Regions from separate parts of the Homo sapiens genome. Here region 2 is linked to region 1. The links are contacts of gene promoters, found by promoter capture Hi-C in blood cells and fetal thymus (Javierre and others, 2016). All regions are on one chromosome and are shown on one strand. Each heading gives the region's core, a stretch centred on a gene start or on the middle of the fragment in contact. The rest is flanking DNA. Distances are from core to core; before and after follow the strand shown.

Evidence for each region. Contacts are between HindIII fragments. The CHiCAGO score rates a contact against its expected background, and 5 or more counts as called.
Region 2: a contact is called between a fragment that was not itself captured here and the fragment with the promoter of XPO4 in region 1, in 1 of 17 cell types (endothelial precursors). The highest score is 7.2, in endothelial precursors.

Annotation. Positions count from the first base shown.
Region 1 is chr13:20,901,388-20,904,087 of GRCh38, forward strand. XPO4 (exportin 4) reads right to left here and starts at 1,359. Exons shown (of 23, transcript NM_022459.5): 1 at 1,283-1,359. The coding sequence starts at 1,351. RefSeq lists an enhancer at 1,122-1,171 and a silencer at 1,382-1,761. The HindIII fragment of the contact is 36,571 bases long and covers 1-2,700 here.
Region 2 is chr13:20,499,406-20,502,105 of GRCh38, forward strand. All of the region lies in intron 2 of CRYL1 (crystallin lambda 1), which reads right to left. Among named protein-coding and RNA genes, the nearest start is that of CRYL1, 25 kb to the right of the region's middle. RefSeq lists an enhancer at 2,553-2,700. The HindIII fragment of the contact is 292 bases long and covers 1,158-1,449 here.

The DNA of each region.
Region 1 (2,700 bases), core at 109-2,608:
AATCCAATGAAAACGGAGCCCCTAGCTCCTAGGAAAATTTCAGGAATTTTACAAAACGCTCTATGTCAGGGATTTTTAAGAATCTTTTATTAAGGGGAATACTAGCTAGTTACTTCTGCTTAATTTGCAAAAGTGTGAAAACCTTCACTAGTCTGTTTTGTGACAAAACGTACATTAAGTTAATATTCATAATGAAGCAAGTAAATCCTGCTTTTATTAGACTTCTCGATTTCTAAAGAAACAAAAATATCTGGTGTAAAATATTAGAACTACAAACTACGCTAGAATTAGTTCGAATATTCTCAAATGTGATGCTCAAACACCCTAACACCAAACCAAAAGGAAAAAAGTCCAAAAAGGTAACAAAGCTGGCTGTATCCAATTCTTAGAAAGTCTGAATCAATCCAGGTATCAAATGAACCTCTAACTTCCCAAAACATCTACAAACACCGAAGTCATAATTTGCAAAAACAAAGCTGAGCCAGCAAATAGAAACACTGTTTACTAACTGAACGTAGTTTATCCTTACTTCTCCTCCTTGCATGTAATACTTTTATCCTTTGACTCGGCCTTCTCAAATTCCCTTAGTAAACAATCTCATCAAACTGCTTATTGTAGTGTAAGCATGAAGTCAAAGAGTAGCATAGACTCAGTTCTCCAAATCGCGGGAGCTTTAAGGAGCTTAGCACTAGACCAAGTTTTGCCCCAATGACCTTGGTCTCAACGATTCCCCTCCCTCCCTCCAGCCGGCCCGGCCCTTCCACGTGCTGCCGGCTGCAATTACTCCAGAGGTGGCTGCATGTCAGGGAAGCGCTAGAGGATGCGAATGCACAGGAAACAAGGGTTGCTAACAGCACCCAGGCTGTGCCATCCAATCCCTCCCGACACCAACTCCCCAAGAGCGCTCACACAGCCCTACAAATTTCCCCTACCGAAGCCCTGCGGGGATAACCCCAACTCCTTCCCGGCGCCTTGCTCTGCGACCCAGTCTGTGGGGCAGGGTGTAAGGTGAAGAAATTCTCTTTGCTACACCACTATATTCCCACGCCCGACTGGGGTGCTGGGCAGCCAGGGGAAGGGGACAGCTCCTGGAAGGAGGGGACGACGGCAGGAGGAAAGTAGGCTGAAGAATCCTGCGCCACGCCACCGCCACCTCCTCCTCCACTTCCAGGCTCCCTGCAGGCCCTTGCCAGTCGCCAGCCCAGCGAGCAGCAAGGCCTGGAGTGGCAGGGCCGACCGGGGGCCCGCGAATCCCGGGGTCTGAGGGGCGCGGCGTCCTCACCATCAGAACTTTAGCCGCGTTCTCCAGCTGAGCGATCACTTCTGGGGGCCCCAGCGCCGCCGCCATCATGGTCTCTCTTCAATGACGCGCCATGCGCTGCATTCTGGGAGCGGGCGCCGCGGCCGGCCAATCGCCGCCGCGACCCCGGAGCCTCACGCGCTCCCAGGGCCGTCGCAGCCGCTGTCGACACCGGCGTCGCGGCCTCGGCGGGTCTGGCCGGGCTGCCGGGTTCCGGGTGGCTGGGAGGGGACTAGTGTGAGCCCGGCCGCCGCGCTGGGGCGGGGGCGGCCGCAGCCGGCACCGGGCGAGGCCGAGGCGGTCTGCCCAGACTGCTGCAGCCGCGCGCCCCGCTAAGCTCCCAGCCCCGCGCATGCGTGGTGTCCGGCGCCCCGGCCTCGCGGTGCCCCCGGCCCTCTCCCCACTACCCTAGTACAGCCCGCCCGGGGACCCGCAGATCCACGACGCCAGTTCGCTCCCTCCGTTCTCAGCCCTGCACACCGCCTCCCCTGGCTCCTCCTTGCCCTTCCACGCTCCAGCGCCGTGCAGGATTTCCTAAACTTGGAATCGCTCTTCCCGCTTTCCCCTCCTCAGAGCGCACCTCCTTTCAAAGTATCTCTGTCTCCTGCTTCTCTGTTCCTTCTTGCCATGGGAGAACATTCCAGGATAGAACGCTTCGTTTTCTTTCTTTCTTTTTTTTTTTTTTTGGAGACAGGGTCTCACTCTATCGCCCAGGATGGAGTGCAATGGCCCTATTTCGGCTCACTGCAACCTCCGTCTCCCGGGTTCAAGCGATTCCCCTGCCTCAGCCTCCTGAGTATCTGGGATTACAGGCGCCCGCCACCACGCCCGGCTAATTTTTGTACTTTTAGTAGAGACGAAGTTTCACCATGTTGGCCAGGCTGGTCTCGAACTCCTGACCTCAGGTGATCCGCCCGCCTCGGTCTCCCAAAGTTCTGGGATTACAGGCGTGAGCCACCGCCCCCGGCCGAACGCTTCGTTTTCATAATGGAGGGCTTTGGCCTTCTGCAGGACAATCATCCAAATGTATCTGGGCAGCGGGTCGCTAGGAGACCCTAGGAGGAAAACCCGTCTTTGGCTCTTGCCGTTTTCACTCTTTAAGGGCTGGCTCACATAGGAGAGGGAGAAAGCAGGGACAGGAAAGCCTGACCTTGACTACCTGGCTTCTCAAATGCAGTAAGATGAGCTTTGTCGGCCAGGCGCTGTGGCTCATGCCTGTAATCCCAGCACTTTGGGAGGCCAAGGCAGGCCTCATTTTAGCTCAGGAGTTCGAGACCAGCCTGGGCAACATCGTGAGACCCTGTCTCTACCAAAAAAAAAAAAAAAAAAAGCCCGGTGTGGTGTCTTGCGCCTGTGGTCCGAGCTTCTCGGGAGGCTGAAGCGGAAGGATTGCCCAGGAG
Region 2 (2,700 bases), core at 54-2,553, 400 kb before region 1:
TGGGAGGTCGAGGCGGGTGGATCGTGAGGTCAGGAGATCGAGACTATCCTGGCTAACACGGTGAAACCCCATCTCTACTAAAAAAATGAAAAAAAAAATTAGCCGGGCGTGGTGGCAGGCGCCTGTAGTCCCAGCTACTAGGGAGGCTGAGGCAGGAGAGTGGCGTGAACCCGAGAGCAGAGCTTGCAGTGAGCCGAGATCATGCCACTGCACTCCAGCCTGGGTGACAGAGCGAGACTCTGACACACACACAAAAAAAAATGTAGGAAGCATTGTCAAATCTGAGATGTTGTTTAGCTCCCTTTGGTTATGTTTATATAGATGTGTTGTCAATGTGTTCCAGGATTATATTAGATTCTTATAATTCTGATATGTCTTAATATGTTGTCAGTAATAATTATGATTTTCATGTTAAATTGTTGTATCCCACAGAAATAACCAAATTTCCTTGTCAACAGTGTCTTTAACTGTGGTTGTCCTAAGACTTTTGTCATCCACAATTGTTGTTTTGTGTTGATTCTTCACAAAAAGTGACTTATAATCAGCTACTGTCCAGGGCTTGTTTCTTTGGGGGGAGTTCATGAAAAGGACTCTTGAATACAAGTTTCTGATAACTTCGGAGATTGTGCCATTGGATGTGAGAGAAAACTTCCAGTGCACTAATGGAAACACTGATGTGTTCACAAAGATGGCTAACTCAACATGAAGCAGAGCAGGAGTTGTCTGCATGGACGGAACTAATGGAGGACTGAAATAACTTTTATGGCTTTTTTGTTTGAAATATTGCTCATTCTTTTTGTTTTTCAGAGTCTGAAGAATTTTTTTCTTTTGAGTCATCCTTTAAGTATCTTTTAAGTATAGTGAGTAGAGTATACTTTTGTAAACAGAATTTGAGGCATATTTCTCTAATTTATCCAGAATTTATAAACTATTTGTGAGTATTCTTAATTCATGGCAATGTGTTTGTTTGCATACAGTTAATAACAACATGTTTTCTTTGGTAATGGGACACAGTTGAAGGAACTGGTTGTTTTCCCAGGGCTTTGACTAAAATGGCCTTGAGAGAGGTTCTAGCAAAGCCAATTTAGGAGAGCCTATGAGAACAGTGATTCTTGTTCCATTTTGTGTGGGTAATCAGGCCAAGTATATGGGACTGAAGCTTATTTTGCAGGTAGATTGGTCCTGCTGTGATGTCTTTGTGAAAGTGGTAGACTGGAGAAAAAGATTGTGTTTCAGAAGAAAAACTTTAGTATTAGATTAGCCTTTGATTCCTGGATGGTCATGAGGTCTTCCATGGTATGGAGCTGCCCACAATGCCTCTCCTCAGCAGGAAGGAGACAGAAAGATGGATGACCAGATGCCCCATGGTTGAGGAATCTATAAACAAGGGGAGACTGAAACCCACTCAATTTTTTCAGTAAACATAGAAATTGATACTTTTTGCCTTAAAGCTTGAAATTTCTATTGGTTTTATCTGAGTTCTTTCCTCAGGAAATTACTTCAGGCATCTCAAAAAAAAAAGTGTTGAAGAACTGAAACTTACCAGATCATCACATCCATACAATGAGACTCCAGGCCCCTCATTCACCATGATTGCTTCCTTGCCCCCCCCTAGTTCCTGTTTTCCTACACAGTGCTACATTTCTTTCCTGCTATATAAACCCCTGATTTTAGGTGGTCAGGGAGATGGATTTGAGACTGAACTCCCATCTCCTTGGCTGCAGCAGCCGATTAAAGCCTTCTTCCTTGGCTGTACTCATCATTTCAGTCATTGGCTTTCACTGCTGTGAGCAGCAGCACCTAGACCAAACTCTTGGTGTTTTGGTAACAAAACCACATTATGAGGAAGGTATTATTATGTCTCCATATCCCAGATGAGGAAACAGATTGAGTGAGTTACCCAGCTATGAAGGCTGAGCCAGATCTGACTGCAAAGCTCACAGTCTGGGCCGCTGAGCCACACTGGACCCCTCTGCACTGCTCACTTATTTTCACACTGTGCTGCCTGCTTTCTATCTACAGTATGACTCCATGTATAATGCAGCTTCCTGAGGAATAAAGGGCATGGCTAACATTTCTTTCAGAAATCTCAGTGCCAGCCTATAGTGAACTCCCAAGGGGATTTCTGGCAGGGTCTTTGGCTCCCACCTATTCCTGAAGGTCTGAGGATCTGAAGAGCTAAAGATGGGGAAGAATGGGGCAGACATGGAAGATCAGGTAAGATTAGCTTAAGGAGGTGAGTCTACCTCATCTCCAGCCAACAGAAATTCTAGCACACTGGAGGCAAAGAACAGAGAGCAGTGAGGAAATAGAAAGGCCAGGGATTGCTTCCTTATGGGATGGCTGTGTTGTGCTGTCTGCTTTGACGTTGACATTGCTGTTGTTTCTAGGCCCTGATTATGCAGAGGCAGAGGGCTGAGCCAGACTCCACCCGACTCCAGCCCCAGGGATCACTCTAACTCCAGACGGGCAGGTTAAGTTGAGGCTGCACAAAAATCTTTAATTAAGTTACTGCAATGCAAAAGAGTCAGAAGACAGCCCAACCACACAGTCCATGTGGCACGGTGATAGTGTGTGGACACTAACAATCATGGCAGGTGTTTCTGAAGTTGGGAAGAGGGCAGAACACTCAAGTTTTCATTAAGAAGAGTAGCTCCAGACTTCCGTTTGACAGCACAATGTTTTAAAAATCTGGCATGC